Linked DNA regions of Homo sapiens: regions 1, 2, 4 and 5 are each linked to region 3. Evidence: promoter capture Hi-C in 16 types of primary human blood cells and fetal thymus (Javierre and others, 2016). All regions are on one chromosome and are shown on one strand. Each heading gives the region's core, a stretch centred on a gene start or on the middle of the fragment in contact. The rest is flanking DNA. Distances are from core to core; before and after follow the strand shown. Region 1 overlaps RPL39L (ribosomal protein L39 like). Region 2 overlaps ST6GAL1 (ST6 beta-galactoside alpha-2,6-sialyltransferase 1). Region 3 holds the start of TRA2B (transformer 2 beta homolog). Region 4 holds the start of RPL39L (ribosomal protein L39 like). Region 5 overlaps ST6GAL1 (ST6 beta-galactoside alpha-2,6-sialyltransferase 1).

The links. Contacts are between HindIII fragments. The CHiCAGO score rates a contact against its expected background, and 5 or more counts as called.
Region 1: a fragment that was not itself captured here is called in contact with the fragment with the promoter of TRA2B in region 3 in 1 of 17 cell types (activated CD4 T cells); the score reaches 6.7 in activated CD4 T cells.
Region 2: a fragment that was not itself captured here is called in contact with the fragment with the promoter of TRA2B in region 3 in 2 of 17 cell types (activated CD4 T cells and naive CD8 T cells); the score reaches 5.5 in activated CD4 T cells.
Region 4: a contact is called between a fragment that was not itself captured here and the fragment with the promoter of TRA2B in region 3, in 3 of 17 cell types (naive CD8 T cells, total B cells and naive CD4 T cells). The highest score is 7.0, in naive CD8 T cells.
Region 5: a fragment that was not itself captured here is called in contact with the fragment with the promoter of TRA2B in region 3 in 1 of 17 cell types (activated CD4 T cells); the score reaches 8.4 in activated CD4 T cells.

The regions. Positions count from the first base shown.
Region 1 is chr3:187,120,757-187,123,861 of GRCh38, forward strand. It overlaps RPL39L (ribosomal protein L39 like), which reads right to left. Exons shown (of 3, transcript NM_052969.3): 3 at 192-572. The coding sequence starts at 544. The coding sequence ends at 389. It also overlaps the pseudogene RPL39P19. Among named protein-coding and RNA genes, the nearest start is that of RPL39L, 17 kb to the right of the region's middle. The HindIII fragment of the contact is 3,064 bases long and covers 205-3,105 here.
Region 2 is chr3:187,038,948-187,041,723 of GRCh38, forward strand. All of the region lies in intron 3 of ST6GAL1 (ST6 beta-galactoside alpha-2,6-sialyltransferase 1), which reads left to right. Among named protein-coding and RNA genes, the nearest start is that of RPL39L, 99 kb to the right of the region's middle. The HindIII fragment of the contact is 1,118 bases long and covers 692-1,809 here.
Region 3 is chr3:185,936,651-185,939,453 of GRCh38, forward strand. TRA2B (transformer 2 beta homolog) reads right to left here and starts at 1,364. Exons shown (of 9, transcript NM_004593.3): 1 at 1,175-1,364. The coding sequence starts at 1,210. RefSeq lists enhancers at 586-795, 698-1,425, 836-1,295. The HindIII fragment of the contact is 7,639 bases long and covers 1-2,803 here.
Region 4 is chr3:187,137,140-187,140,216 of GRCh38, forward strand. It overlaps RPL39L (ribosomal protein L39 like), which reads right to left and starts at 2,357. Exons shown (of 3, transcript NM_052969.3): 1 at 2,074-2,357. RefSeq lists enhancers at 1-373, 1,563-2,069, 1,938-2,037, 2,078-2,227 and a silencer at 2,268-2,497. The HindIII fragment of the contact is 4,719 bases long and covers 1-3,077 here.
Region 5 is chr3:187,062,681-187,065,789 of GRCh38, forward strand. All of the region lies in intron 5 of ST6GAL1 (ST6 beta-galactoside alpha-2,6-sialyltransferase 1), which reads left to right. Among named protein-coding and RNA genes, the nearest start is that of RPL39L, 75 kb to the right of the region's middle. RefSeq lists an enhancer at 2,954-3,109. The HindIII fragment of the contact is 2,549 bases long and covers 438-2,986 here.

The DNA.
Region 1 (3,105 bases), core at 487-2,986, 1.2 Mb after region 3:
GTAGTCCTGATCTCATTTTGTCCCATTTATACATCTGCATGATCTGAGCAGCATCTATCCCTCTCACCACAGGCTGAAGGTCTATTTGGCTCAGCATTTATCCTCAGCATTACCCAGGGGTTTGGCATACAGCACAGATCCTGATGTTTACCGAATAAATGAAGGGACAGTTTTTAAAGATGACAGAGACATTTTTGAAACAAAAGCTTTCACATATTTATTACTGAATCCACCCTACTAGCACAGAGCATACAGAAAAACAGAAAAAAATATTCCCAGTAAAACATGTGCAACTGTCCAGGTAGTGGTGACATTTTCAGCTTGATATCGTAAGATGATCGTGAACTTGATACAGCATAAATATGTGTGCCATCTCATGTGCAATTCCTTATAGACCCAGCTTGGTTCTTCTCCAATGCCTCCTTTTGGAGTTGTACCTGATTTTACTACCAGGTTTCATCTGAATCCACTGGGGGATGGGACGATTTTGCTTTTGTTTCTTGGCCAGGAATCGCTTAATGGTGAAAGTCTTGTGAGAAGACATGGCGAGAAACAGAGTCAACCACACACCACTATGGCGGAGAAAGGGAGAGAGAGACAGAGACAATATTACCATAGGATAGGATAAGGTAACATGAAGAAATAACAAGACAAGAAAGAGGATCTTTAGTGCCACAGCGAGGGCTCATTGCCACTCAGGATCCCACAGGCAGCTCAGGAGCAGCTCAGGAGCCAGCAGCGGTCTGAGGAGTCTGATGGCTGTTCTGGTGGATCAGCAGCAAAGGCAGGAGTCCCTTTGTTCCTACTGTTCCTGACTTGATGCTACTCATTTCTCAGCAACATACTTCTGCTTCTCTTGTTAAATGTCCATCAAGAGGAATTATTTTCAACTTTAAAAAAGTTACGAACAGGTAATACCAGTTCATTACAGAAAAATTAAAGCAATAGAACACTAAAAAAAACTATTATCCCATCTAGCTAGAAAAAGCCCCAATATTAACAACTTGATATTATAAGAGCCTTCCAGTTAAGACAGATGTACATGCAGAATATTGTCTTTCTATAAATTGAGATATTGTAGATATTATTTTGTAACTACAACTTATCTAACTAATATGTGACCCTTTTTTGGCAACTCTTTCTCAATAACCCTTTACATTTGGAGGTCTTAAATCTTTTCCAGTGTCCTGCTATGGCAAATAGTACAGAACAGGAAAACATGGTTGAAAATAGAAACCTATAAAACAAGTAATTCATCCCCACAACACTTAAAATATGAATGTATACATTTAAAACATGCGATTTGCTGTAAAACTATCTCACGGTACTTTCATGTTACTACTATTTTAAAAGCCACTGGCTGTGCATACTAATATTTTTATCTAATTATCAAAATTGACCACATTGCCATCTACTGAATTGCATGCTACCACTCCATTTAAAGATCTTGGGTCCTCCATAATTAACGAACATCAACCTGGGGCCAGAGACACAGTAGTTATTTTTAATGATTCAGATGCAAAATAATGTCTACATCTCAGATTGTGAGAGTAATTACATGATGGCAGTAAAGTCTTACTGCAAACAGTGTTGGAGATATACAAACAGTATGGATCTGTCATGACAAAGGCATTTTTTTTTAACTCTAAGATAATGGGGATAGTGGTAGTGTGCAAAAAGTATGACTGTTTCTGACTGTCTGAGTTCACACACAGTGTCTAACCCAGTCTCTTCAGATGTGACCCAAGCTATTATCTTGGTTTCTGTCTTATGGCTCACTGTTGTGAGATGTTTATTCTATGTCTGGCATCTCCCCTAACATGCAGGCAGGAAGAAGAGAAAGAAAGAAAGAAAGGCAAAAGAGTACATGCTGTGAGGCTACCGGCTTTTAAGGAGCTTTACTAGGTATCTCTCTCAATACCTTTGATTACACCTTATTGGCAAGAACTGTGTTCCACTGCCATCCTTAGCAGTAATGAAGGATGGGCACTATAGTTTTTTAGCTGAGCACATGATGCCCCTAACCCCACACAAATCAGGTTCTGCTAAAGAAAAAGGAAGAAGAATGAATAGCAGAGTAGATAACTAGCAGTCTTTGCTATAACAATTTTGGAAAAGATAATTTAGGATACTTCTGTGAATTTCAGCTCTCAAAATAACCAAAAGAAAATAGAGGAAAATTTAAAAAAGAGAAAAAGGAAGTTCTCAATAGAAATACCTATTAGTCTAGGTATTGAAAAATGGGGTGGAAAAAAAGTCCAAATTGATGGGCAACCCATAAATATCATGGTAAGGAAATACCAGAAGAAATAAGAGTGCTAATTATACTGTCTGCCTTTCAACCCTAATATCCAAACTTCAGACACTTCTGAGACAACTGCCCTAGTGGGGAGGCCAGTGTCCCCAGATTTGTACATCTTCCCACTGGGAACTTTCAGGAGCAGGAGACTTTATGTGCAAGTAACAGATGAGTAGGCAACTAAGTTGGGGTATAGTGTGGGGTGTGGTTGAGATACAAATGTTTCATGAAATATAAAACATTGAAAACTAAGCCGCAAGTATCCTTGTAGGAGTCTACAGGTTACGAGAATAACAAATAGGCCTGAAAATGCCAAATGGGTGATAAAGATAGGGAAAGTACACTACTATTTCTGCCCAATCCTTTTATTTTCTTCCCATACATTAGCAGCAAAGAACTTTTAGCTACCAATCACAGTTCATCTTAAATTGACCACATGCTGACTTTAGCTAGCTATCTAGCAGACCCTGTTCTACCCTTTGTATATTAATTCCCTCTATACAATCTATCAGTGACTATTTGGCTCCAACCACTTCAGAAAAAAAGTCTTCAAGAATACAGGGAAAGAACTAGACTGGGTTGCCAACAAACCCAGAGTCTTAACACCCTCTCCCTTGGGAACCCTGGTTGTACTGGTTAGGGTTCTTGAAGCCAATCTTGTTTGAAAGTCTTCTGTAAGAAAAATCTACTGTAGTAAGATAAAGAACTACAGTAGGACAAATAGTTTACTGTACTATTCCAAGTATTCATTTCCAATGAAGAGGATGATAGTGTGCTCACCTCTGGAGACACTTTGGGCTAGAAGC
Region 2 (2,776 bases), core at 1-2,500, 1.1 Mb after region 3:
GCAGGGAATCTCAGGATCTCAGTATCTGGCTCCAGCTTTGCTGTTTTCTTTTTGTATGTATTTTTTAGTCCTCTTTAACTGCTGATTCAATGTGGGTTTCATTGGGGGGTGTAGAGAAATGGCTTGTCCATTTCTATTAACTATATAAGATTTAAGTTATTCTGTATTTCAGTCAACCATTCTGAGTACCTACTACCTGCCACGAATGCAACTGGTACTGAGTATGTCATGACGGGTGGGTCGGGACAGGATTTCCTTGCTTTGAGCATTGATTTCTGCCGGTTCAGTGTTGGCCAGTTCTTTGAAGGTGATGATGCAAGTCGCTGTGTTCTTCCTCTAGAAGCCTCGTGATGATTGTAAAGATTCTCTGATACAATTGCATCAGTTCAATAATCTTTCATTGAGTATCCGCTCTGGTCCAGGCACTGTGCTGGGTACTAGGGTTTCAGAAAGGATACCAGGAGGAGTTTTCCTTGAGCAGCAAAGTCAGGCATGAAAAGCAAGCATTACAAAGCACTGGCTGGCAGCAAAGGGGAGCAGGGATAGTGCGGAAGGGGAGGTGGCCTCCACTGACCTTCAGAAGCAGAAAGGTGATGCTGTCAGAGCTGGCAGGCACATGGACAAGGAGAAAGAGTGCAGCAGTGCAGACACCTGGAGGCTTAACACAGTCTGGTGTAATTGGAAAATTCAAAGCTTAGTGTGTTTTTCCAAAACATTTGTAGAGAAAAGTTTGCTACTCTTTTCCCTCGGTTGCGCCATTTAGAGAAAGTTTCTTCAGCCTCTGCCTTCTTCAGACAATTTGAGAGATGAGAAAGGGTCTTGCAGTTATAAGTGCCTGTGACCAGAAACTCCAGCCACCTGGTGGACTTGGAGCCTCAACCAAGGGTGGTGTCAAGGGACCACATGAGCCCTTATGTGAGATTTCAGATGAGTGCCCTGAGGCCATGACAGAGCACAGGCTGTGAAGGCTGAGGCTGTCTGATGGTTGCAAGACTGTCGCTAGACCCAGCTGTTTGGAGGAACTCTTCTTTCCTGGGAAACCACACCTTGGAGAGTAGGTACTGGGCAGCTGCTGCCTGAGCCTCCACTCCTGTGACAGTGAATCAGGCCCTTCCTGCCATCTTGTTTCATTCAGACATGTGAAAGTCAGGTTCTAAGTCCACTATTTCCAAATCACTCATGCAACTTTGAAAATTATTTGTATTTCCAAACCTCACTATACTCAGCTATAAATGGAGCTCATAAAATCTGCTGTGCTTATCTCACGGGAGTATAATAGGTCTGTAAAACCTTACCAATACGGAAAGTACCTGAGTGTTACCACTCAGTGCACAGCAGGGATGGCAGGTGCAGCACTGATGGTGAAGGTGGCTTGTCTGCGACTGTCTGACAGACGAAGTTGCCTCTCTAGTGACCTTGAGTCCGACTTGATCACACTGACTTCTCACTGTCCCTTATCACAGATGCATGTCCTTGGGTGGAAAGATGATGAACTTTTAGAGTCAGACAGACCTGGGCTGGAATTCTGGTTCTAGAACTGACTTGCTGTTGACATTGGAGAAACCCTATAACCTTGCTAAGTCTCAGTTTTTTCCATTTCCTAAAATAGGATTGTCAATATCTCTATCATAGTGTTGTAGTAAAGGTTCAATGAGATATTGCAAGGAAAGTGACTACCACGTAGTAGGCCCTCCTTAAATGCTACTTTCCTTCTTTTCTCTAGTTCTTCTTCAGTTGTCATATGGTCATGTGATTACCTGTGTTGGGTGTCTGCGGAAATTGAATTCCTTAGTTTCTGGTAATACAACAAGCTTCCACCCTTCACTTCATGATCTTCTATCTGAATTCTTCTTCCACTGTGTACATTTAATCATTTCCACAACTTCAGCAGCCCAAGATAGGAGCCCATCGTTCCCAGAGTCACTGGTTCCTGAGGTCTGGGATGGTGGAAGCACTGCTTTGGTTGGTACTGCCAATGGATTCCAGGAATGAGCTGGATGTCAGTTCATGGAGAATTCCCAGGGAAGAGCCTGGAGCTCAGGGCTGCTGAGTCATGGCTGTGGCTTCACACTGCTGTCTTCACTACCCGTATCACCTCCACATGGCCCCCAGGCTGAGCTGCTGCTCTCCTGTCTCTGTTCAGAATACCTTCTGTGCCTTTTTGCTTATCTAGTTCAAATCCAATGAATACCATGCTCTTGTTTTGCCCTCCCAACACTCTGCAAATCACATAGGGCAGAGATAATTATTCTGAAAAACTCAGGGGCAGAAATATTAAGTGACCTGCCCAAGGTCACCAAGAATGGGGATAAGAACCCAGGTTTTGTGAACACCCAGTCCAGTACTCCTACTACCTTTTCCTGATATCCTTAGGAGCGGGATCCATGGGAAGGGACCTCAGACCCCTAGTGGGTTAGCAAAACCCCGGAGGTGATTGCTTTGATTTATTATTGTAAATAAACCCAGTGATTGGGGAAAGAATGTAATGTTTTCCAAAAGATACAGACATTATTTGAGTTCAAAGTGCTTCCAGTTTCCATTCAGTTACACAATAAATTCTGAGAAAACAAAGTAGGTGTTTACTCAGAAATAAAGAGACTATTCAGTCTCTATTTGCTCAGTGAAATCTATTTTCCAGAGCTTCTTGCAGTTCTGTGCATGTTGTACTGGAAAGGACATGGGTTATGGAATCAAATCCACTTCGATTTGAACCTCAGTGCAACCATTTCCTCAGCTCTGTGAGCTTGGGCACTTCCCTTGACTTCTTAGAGCCTCA
Region 3 (2,803 bases), core at 114-2,613:
CAAGGGGAAACTTAGGTAACAAATTGTTTTTTTTTTTTAAAAAAGCACAAATTATTCCCACAGCCTCAAAAATCAATTTCTATGGTGCTTTTCTATCACCCTTCTAACAGATTCCTCTTAATTCTAGCAAGCCTCGTATGTTCGCATCATTCAATGCTTTCCGAATCCAATACCCAGAGCCCCACAGACCAGCTACGTATGCTGTTTAAACCCTAGAACTGTCTTGTTCCCGCAATTCAATCAACCCTCACTGAACACCTTTAAGAGGTGGAAACTTAAGGGAAAGAAAACTGTAGCCAACACACGCTGTGGTTCTAAGTATTAGAACGCCTCAAAACAAAGGAAATAACGGCGCCGTAAATGGTTGCCCGCCAATTTCTCCTTCACAATCCCGTGGAAATGCGATGTCCACAAAATCATCTTAACGACTTTGTGGTCTGTCCTAATAGAATACTGATACAGATTTTTGCCTGGGAAGCCCTTTCGGCATCAGAGAAAAGCGCTTCATTTAGGCCAAACACAAAGCCCTCACGCAATCCCCTCCACCTAACGGGCCCAGAACTTAGTCGGCCTTGGATTAGTTTCCATCTTAAGAGGCCCCAAAGACATCCCAGACTCCGTCCTTTCCGTGGAGGCAAAGACGGTCCTTCGTTAACCTAAACACCGGCCCAAAGACCCAAAAGAACGTCGTCTGTCCCCTTGCACCCCACCACGCGGCCTTACGAAGCGCGGCCCGCTGCGGGTCGGGTCCGCGTTGCCGCGCGGCTTCTCCGCCATTTTGTGCCTCTGGCAGCTCGCCCAGCCCGCCAGCCCAAGATGGCTGCGGCGGACCTTCGCAGGAGAGCAACGCCGAAATAAGATATCGCTCCCCTCCCCCAACACCGCGGGGACGCAGCGGCCATTTTCATCTTCCCCCTCTTATAACGGGAAAAACGGCCGTCTCGGGCAGAAGCCACATAAACCCGCCGGGGGCCTCCCTCCTTCACGACCAAAGGCACTAAGGCACTATCCACAAAGGCTTTTTTTGGTTAAATGCTGTCTCCCTTGCCTGCCCTCCCGGCTTCAGACTTCGGAGCCTAAAACGCCCCTGCCTCCTGGCCCGAGGCCGACGGGCCTAGAAAAAGATGCAAGGAGCTAGGACCACACAGCCACCCCCTACCGCAGCTCTACGTACCCGCTCGCCGTAGTTCTGCTCGCCGCTGTCGCTCATGACTCCTGGCTGCTGTCGCCGGTCGATGTGCTTCAATCGAAGCTGCCAACCTCTTGCACCTTCCTTAAGGAGGCTCCGCCGCAGCCCCGCACGACGCGCCGGTCGCCCAGCCGCTCAGAGCCGAAATGCTCCGCACCGCCTCCGCACGGGCTCTAACTCTACCGGATGTGACGCGGCGCTCCTTAGCCAGGCTCCTCCCCTCCCAGAAACGCGCGCTTTCTTGGCCTCGCCCCTCCTCGCTCTGCCTTTCCTCTCCAGCTGCAGCGCGTCCCGCACAGGAAGTGACGTGACCCCGCCCCTCGCAGGGCCCCACCCCCATTCACGAGCCTCTATGAGGCGGGAAAGCTAGCGTGTCGTTTGGCTGCTGTAGTGGGCGCCACGGAGCCACAGTGATGTCACCAGCCACTTCTGAATCCCTTCTAGAACTTTCCAGGGAACCTGCCGAGTGTGCAGGGAGGAAGGAGATGCTGTTTCCCCCAATCTCAATTCCTTTCTCCGCCTTATTAGTTTCTTGTTTTGTGTCTTTCCTTTGTTAGAGAAGTGAATGTTCGTACATTGGGTTCTTACTTAATTTTGTCTTACTTGTAGATATTTCCTTCCTGAATACGTCTTCATTTAAAAAAGGTCAGATCGGGCTGGGCGCGCTGGCTCACGCTGTAATCCTAGCACTTTGGGAGGCCGAGACGGGTGGATCACGAGGTCAGGAGATCGAAACCATTCTGGCTAACCCAGTGAAACTCCGTCTCTACTAAAAATACAAAAAAATTAGCCAGGCGCGGTGGCGGGCGCCTGTAGTCCCAGCTACTTGGGAGGCTGAGGCAGGAGAATGGCGTGAACCCAGGAGGCGGAGCTTGCAGTGAGCCGAGATCGCGCCACTGCACTCCAGCCTGGGCAATAGAGCGAGATTCCGTCTCAAAAAAAAAAAAAAAAAAAAAAAAAGGTCAGATCGGCTGGGTGCGGTGGCTCACGCCTGTAATCCCAGCACTTTGAGAGGCCGAGGCAGGCGGATCACATGGTCAGGAGTTCGAGACCAGCCTGGCCAACATGGTGAAACCCAGTCTTTACTAAAAATACAAAAAAATTAGCCGGGAGTGGTGATGCATGCCTGTAATCCCAGCCACTCGGGAGGCTGAGGCAGGAGAATCGCTTGAACCCGGGAGGCGGAGGTTGCAGTGAGCCGAGATCGGACCGCTGCACTCCAGCCTGGGCGACAGAGCGAGACTCTGTCTAAAAAATAAATAAATAAAAATAAAAAAGGTCGGACCTTAATACACAGGAATCAGACACAATCTCTATTCTAAAGTTACAAAGTAATGTGCTAGAACCGTTAAACACAATTAGAAAAAATGATTGTAAGTGCCAGAGGCATGTATAACTACAGGGGTGTCACAAGGAGGGAAGATTAATTCTGCCATTTCGTAAGAGAATATAGTTGGATTATAGTGAGAAGAGCCCAAGACCAAGTCGGATACTTTCTTTCTTCTTTTTTTTGAGACGGAGTCTTGCTTTGTCGCTCAGACTGGAGTGCAACGGCGCGATCTCGGCTCACTGCAACGTCTGCCTCCCGGGTTCAAGTGATTCTCCGCCTCAGCC
Region 4 (3,077 bases), core at 126-2,625, 1.2 Mb after region 3:
AGTGAGTCATGATTGAGTCAATGCACTCCAGCTTGGGCAACAGAACAACACTCTTCCTCAAAAAAAAAAAAAAAAAAAAAAAAAAGTGTCAGGTGCAGTGGCTCACACCTGTAATCCCAGCATTTTGGGAGGCCAAAATGCTCAGGATCACCTGAGGTCAGGAGTTCCAGACCAGCCTGGCCAACATGGTGAAACCCCGTCTCTACTAAAAATACAAAATAATTAGACAGCGTGGTGGCACATGCCTGTAGTCCCAGCTACTTGGGGAGGTGAGGCAGGAGGATCACCTGAACCCGGGAGGCGGAGGCTGCAGTGAGCCGAGGTTGCACCACTGCACTCCAGCCTGGGCAACAGAGTAAGACTCCGTCTTCAAAAAAGAAAAAGAAAAATTGGCCGGGTGCGGTGGCTCACGCCTGCAATCCCAGCACTTTGGGAGGCTGATGCGGGCAGATCATCTGAGGTCAGGAATTCGAGACCAGCCTGGCCAACCATGGCCAACATGGTGAAACCCCGTCTTTACTAAAAATACAAAAATTAGCCGGGTGTGGTGGCAGGCACAGCTACCACAATCCCAGCTACTCGGGAGGCTGAGACGGGAGAATCACTTGAACCCAGGCAGCAGAAGTTGCAGTGAGCCAGGATTGCGCCACTGCACTCCAGCGACAGAAGGATACTCCGTCTCAAAAAAAAAAAAAAAGGAAAAAAAGAGACTTTAAAAGCTGGTGTGCGTTTTAACATTTGTAGCACATCTTTTTTCAGACCAGCCACATTTCAAGTGCTGAATAGCTACATGTGATTCAATGAGCTTTGGTCAGCTCAGCTTTACAACCTCTCAGGTTCTTTCTCTAAGCAAACTCTCTTAGGTTCTGAAATTGAGAAGGCGTGGAGGGTGACTATTGGATTACAAAGCCTTTATGATTCCAACAACTCTCAGTTAATAGAAGCATCCGTCCTGTCTCTTGATGTCCTAGTGACTAAAGACATGTCTAGAGAAGAAACTCTTTTAACTATATTTTTATATAGTTACATGACAGCCTTTGAGAAAATTGAGAATTAAGGCCAGGCCCAGTGCAAAATGAAAATGTTGTGGAGGTGGCGGGGAGGGGAGGCGGGTGCTGGTTTAAAAATTAAGAATTTCAAGATTGCCATAGCAGAGCAAGAAAGTAAGTACAGGGCCCTTCTGAGCCCTATGTGACTGCACGGGTGGGACCCTTTTGAAGCTAGTCCTGGTCAGGGTTTATGTCTCTGGATGAATCCAGATGTGTAAAAGGCAAGGAAGTGGCGAGATTCCTTGGGCTATCTTTGAGAAACGGGGACCTTAAAGGAGACTGCAAAATCTTACCTACTGGAATTAATGGAGGAAAAGAAAGTGTTTGCGCCTGTGAGAACGCCTTGGAAAGAGGCAGTGAGCAGATGAGGCAGATAGGTAAGACACTTGGTTTTGCTGATTAAACCACTGATGAATCAGTGCCACTCACATCCTGGGTAATTCTAGGGACACTAGTTGGACAACGCTGACATCTGAAGAGGTGGCAGGGCGGAACATGGATCCCTTTAAGGCTACTTTATTGTCGATTTCCTCCTTCTCTAAGCTAGAAACAGGGGGTGCCTGAGTGGCCTCCAGAAGCCACTACTGTAGGCCAGGAGCAGTGCCTCACGCCTGTAATCCCAGCACTTTGGGAGGCCGAGGCGGGCGGATCACCTGAGGTCGGGAGTTCGAGACTGGTGTGACCAATATGGTGAAACCCGTCTTTACTAAAAATACAAAAATTAGCCGAGTGTGGTGGCGCGCGCCTGTAACCCCAGCTACTCAGGAGGCTAAGGCGGGAGAATCGCTTGAATCCGGAGGCGGAGGTTGCAGTGAGCCGAGATCACACCACTGCACTCCAGCCTGGGCGACGGAGGGAGACCCTGTCTCAAAAAACAAACAAACAAACAAACAAACAAAAACGCTACTACTGTTGGAGTCGGCTTGAGCTGTGGCATTGTTGTTTCCAGCCCGTGACCCTCACGCCGCCCTGCTCGTTGGGCGGACCGGGCCCTGGCGGCGGGTGAGGAGGAACCTTTACTTACCGGCGCCCTGGCCTCTGCTTTTTTCCCACTCTAGGACGCAAATCTCGATCTGCAAGGGCCTGGGGCGCGGGCGGAAAAGGCGGGCCCAGCTCCCTCAGGTCTGCGTGTCACCGACCCGAACCCGCTCCGTCGTCCTGACGCCCCCGGCCTAGCTGCAGCCACCTTGTCGCAGGGGCCTTGGTGTCTCTGAGACTCCGAGACGCCTCGCCCCCACCTGGCGTTCGGAGGCGGTTGCCTCGCTGGGCGCAGCAATTCAACCGCCGCGCGCCGGATGCTAAGACCGCGATTTCCCCGGATGCTAGGGCGGTGATTTCCCCCGTGACAGGCCCCGCCCCGGCCCCGCCCAGGCCCGGGCGGTCCCGCCCCACTGAGCTGTGGCTCGGGGAGCCGTGGGTCCGACTCCTGCGTGTGATGTGTCACCAAGTTGACTTTGGGGTCCCCCATTCTTCCTTAGTTCTCTATTTTACCTCAGCGCGTTGTCTAGCTGCTGCCTGGCCACGGTACTTAGCACACAGCGTGACTTAATACTGGATAAACGAGGAAAGGATTCGTACGCCCTGGCGGGGCCAGAGGCTCACAGCTTGGGTTCCCGCGAGCACACGAGCCAGGAACCGCCAATGCCTCCAGGGGGCGCTCTCCCTCCCATCGAGCCACCGCCGGGCCATTGGAGACCAGGAGGACCTCTCAGCTCCATCCCTGCGTCTCTAACAATTGTCTCATTTCCCTGCCTGGAGTCAGTATTACCACTCCCATAACACAGATTTTTAAAATGCAACTAAATTTTAAACGAGTCACTTTATTTAAAAACAACATGAACAAAATGGGATTTCTGCTAATGCAAATATCTATACAAATTTAACGATTTTGGTTCTAATTCTAGATGAAAAGTCAAATCTCCTGTTACATATGAGAAAAGTCAAATCTCCTGTTACATATTAGAAGTTTACCTCTTGTTACCTTTACTGCAACTGCAATGGCAGTTTCAACTGTTTCAACCAAGTAAT
Region 5 (3,109 bases), core at 462-2,961, 1.1 Mb after region 3:
AGAGTTTCAATTTTGCAAGACTGAAAAAGTTTTGGAGATGGTTTGTGGTGATAGTTGCACAACAATACAAATGTACTTAATATCACTGAACTGTACACTTAAAAATGGTTAAGATAGTCAATGTTATGTTATATGTATTTTAATACAATTTTTAAATTGGAAAAAATGTCAGTAGGGGAGACAGTCACAGAAGTACAAACACTGTATGATTCCACTTTATATGGAACACCTGGAGTAGAAACAAAGTAGAATGATGTTTGCCAAGGGCTAGGAGGAGAAAGGAATGTGGAATTGTTGTTTAATGAATACTGTGATTCATTTTGGGAAGCTGAAAAAGTTCTGGAGATGGTGGTGATAGTTACACAACAATAGGAATGTACTAAGCTGAATACTTAAAGTTGCTAAAATGGTCAATTTTATGTTATGTATATTTTAAAAGCTTTCTTTTAAATCAACAGGGAGAAACCAGTTGATAGAGGGAGAAAGTGAATATACTAAAAAGAGGAGAAAATGATTAGTTACCCACAACATGATGGTGGTGGAGCCAAAGCGTAGTGGAGGATGAACCCCAGCAGGCGGGAGTCAGAGGGAAGAAGGTGCGAGTGGTGTAGCTGGAGGCAGTCAGTATTAGAAGGATGAGAGGGCTTCTATTTTCTCTGCAAAGTGGCATGCAAGGCCAAGTCAGAAGGAGGCTGAGGGGGAAAGAGGTTTTAGTAGAGAAGGTTTGAACAAAGAGATTTATAATTGTCATTGAGGTGAGTGGGACCGTCAGTAAACCTGATGAATGGAGTAGGATTTCCAGGCCATGCTGGGCTACTTTGAGGTTGAAGAGAATGAATTTAGAGAGAAACCAATCTCTGTTTGATACATGGATGGTAGGATCTGGAGGTGAGCAGGCAGCAGCAAAGAGGAGAGGGGAGAGGGGAGGAGCCCTCCCTGAGCACTCTCTTGGACTGCGGAGGCTACCTACTCTCTGAGCACTTCTTCGTGATGATTCAGTCTTCCTCACTGTGAAGAACGAAACCCCAGTCCTGCAAAGATTTGAAACTGTATTTAAGGCCAAAGTAAGGTTGCCTGGGAATTAAGAGTACTGGAGTCAGGCAGGCTTTGATCAGATCCCTCCCCCAACACTTCCTGTGTGAGTGACTTCAGCAAGTTGCTTTACTTTACCTTTCTGAGCCTCATTTCCCTTACTTGTAACACAGAAATATGAATAGTTACTATCCAGGGTTTTTTTTTAGGATCAAAGGAGTTACTATGTGTGGAGCATGTCACCCAGAGGCTGGTATGCAGCAAGTGCTTTGTAAATAGTAGCGATGGGCACTACTGAAACCTGAATGTCTGCCTCTGCCTGTTTGCGAATGACTCCACCTTCCCAAATCCCAACAGGGAAGGTGAGTCAGCTTGAGACCACTTGAGAGGCATCTAGCAGAAGGGAGGCAAAACTTCTGTTAAAGGATAATTTTTAGGGAAAAAAAGGTAAGATGATGACTCTCATACAGATATTAAAAATGAATTCATCATGAAGATTTTATTTTACTCGTATGATGGAACCAGGCAGATATTACAACTGGTTCAAAGGAAAAGTCAAAGCAACACAAATTTGGAGTAAAGGAGTTGAACTAGTTTTTCTGTGAGATAAGGCAGGGGGAGGGGAGAAATCAATTGAAACTCTCCTGGGCAGCATCCTGCCCAGTAGGCACATGTATTAGTTGCCTACAATTCACAAAGGGTTGCGAAATAGCTCCCGTGGAATCAGAATCTGACAGGGAGGAAGAGTGTGCTCAGAAAATGCATGGCTTTCTACTGAAGCAGATTTTTTTCCCATTACACTTCTAGATCTCTGTGCACCATTGTGCCAGGGCTGCGAGGAAGGTGGCCCACTTCCCGGGATACACTACCCACCCTCAAGAGAGCCTTTCCTGCTGCTTCTTAGGCAAGTCAGCTCTCTTTTCTCACCTCCTGTAAGCAACACTAAGTATCTGGCTGTTCCTTTCGTACTCGAGTCCTGGCCGCTCCATGACAGCACTTGTGGTGGTACTGAACTGTGATGGACACTTTCTATCATTGCCCTTTCTTACCTTGATATCCTAAAAAGCTGGTGGTCTGTCTTCTCTATCTTTTGTCCTGGTCAGTTATCCTAACTATTTTGTGTCTGTTTCTGTGGATTAGTAAACGGGGTCCCCACCCCCACTCCACAAGGAGAACATCTGGCACCCAGAAGTCACTGAGAGAATAGCTGTTGCTTTGGTAGAATTCTGCCTCTGAGTGGCTTGTTCTTTTCCCAGACGGAGAGGTCTCCTGACAGCAGCTCTCTTCTTTTTCTTTTTTTTTTTTTTTGAGACAGAGTTTTGCTCTTGCGCTCAGGCTGGAGTGCAGTGGTGCACTCTCGGCTCCCTGCTCTGCCTCCTGGGTTCAAGTGATTCCCCTGCCTCGGTCTCCCAAGTAGCTGAGATTACAGGCATGCACCACCATGCCCAGCTAATTTTTTGTATTTTTAGTAGAGACAGGGTTTTGCCATGTTTGCCAGACTAGTCTCAAACTCCTGACCTCAGGTGATCCACCTGCCTCAGCCTCCCAAAGTGCTGGGATTACAGGCATGAGCCACTGCGCCTGGCTTTAGCAGCTCTCTTCTAAAGCCATCTGGACCCACATTTGTTCAGCTCCCCTCCCTTGGCCATGATGAAGGCATGCAAAACAAAAAAGGCACTTTTCTTATTGAGAAGGTGGCTTTTTATAGAGAATGGTGTCATACTGTTAGGTTTCAGGCCAGCAGACCTAGTCAGGCATGTGACACTTCTGTGCCAGGTGTGGCTATGAGAGTCAACAGGAAAAATGATATATGTAAATGGACAGGTCTTTAAATAAATGCAGTTTTGACTATAAGAGTAAGAAGGTTTCTGTGAGACTCAACTCAGTACCTCCTGTACCCTGTGGGCCTGAGAGAGGAGACAATGGGACAAGAAGACCCAGTGGCTTCCTTGGAAGCTTTTGTGCTAGCTGGAGAGAGAAGACCTACTTCCTATATGCCTAGCAACAGTCCACACTGACTGGACTGCAACCAGGACATTTCCAGATTACTCAGTGGGGCTTATCTTGAAATAATAGT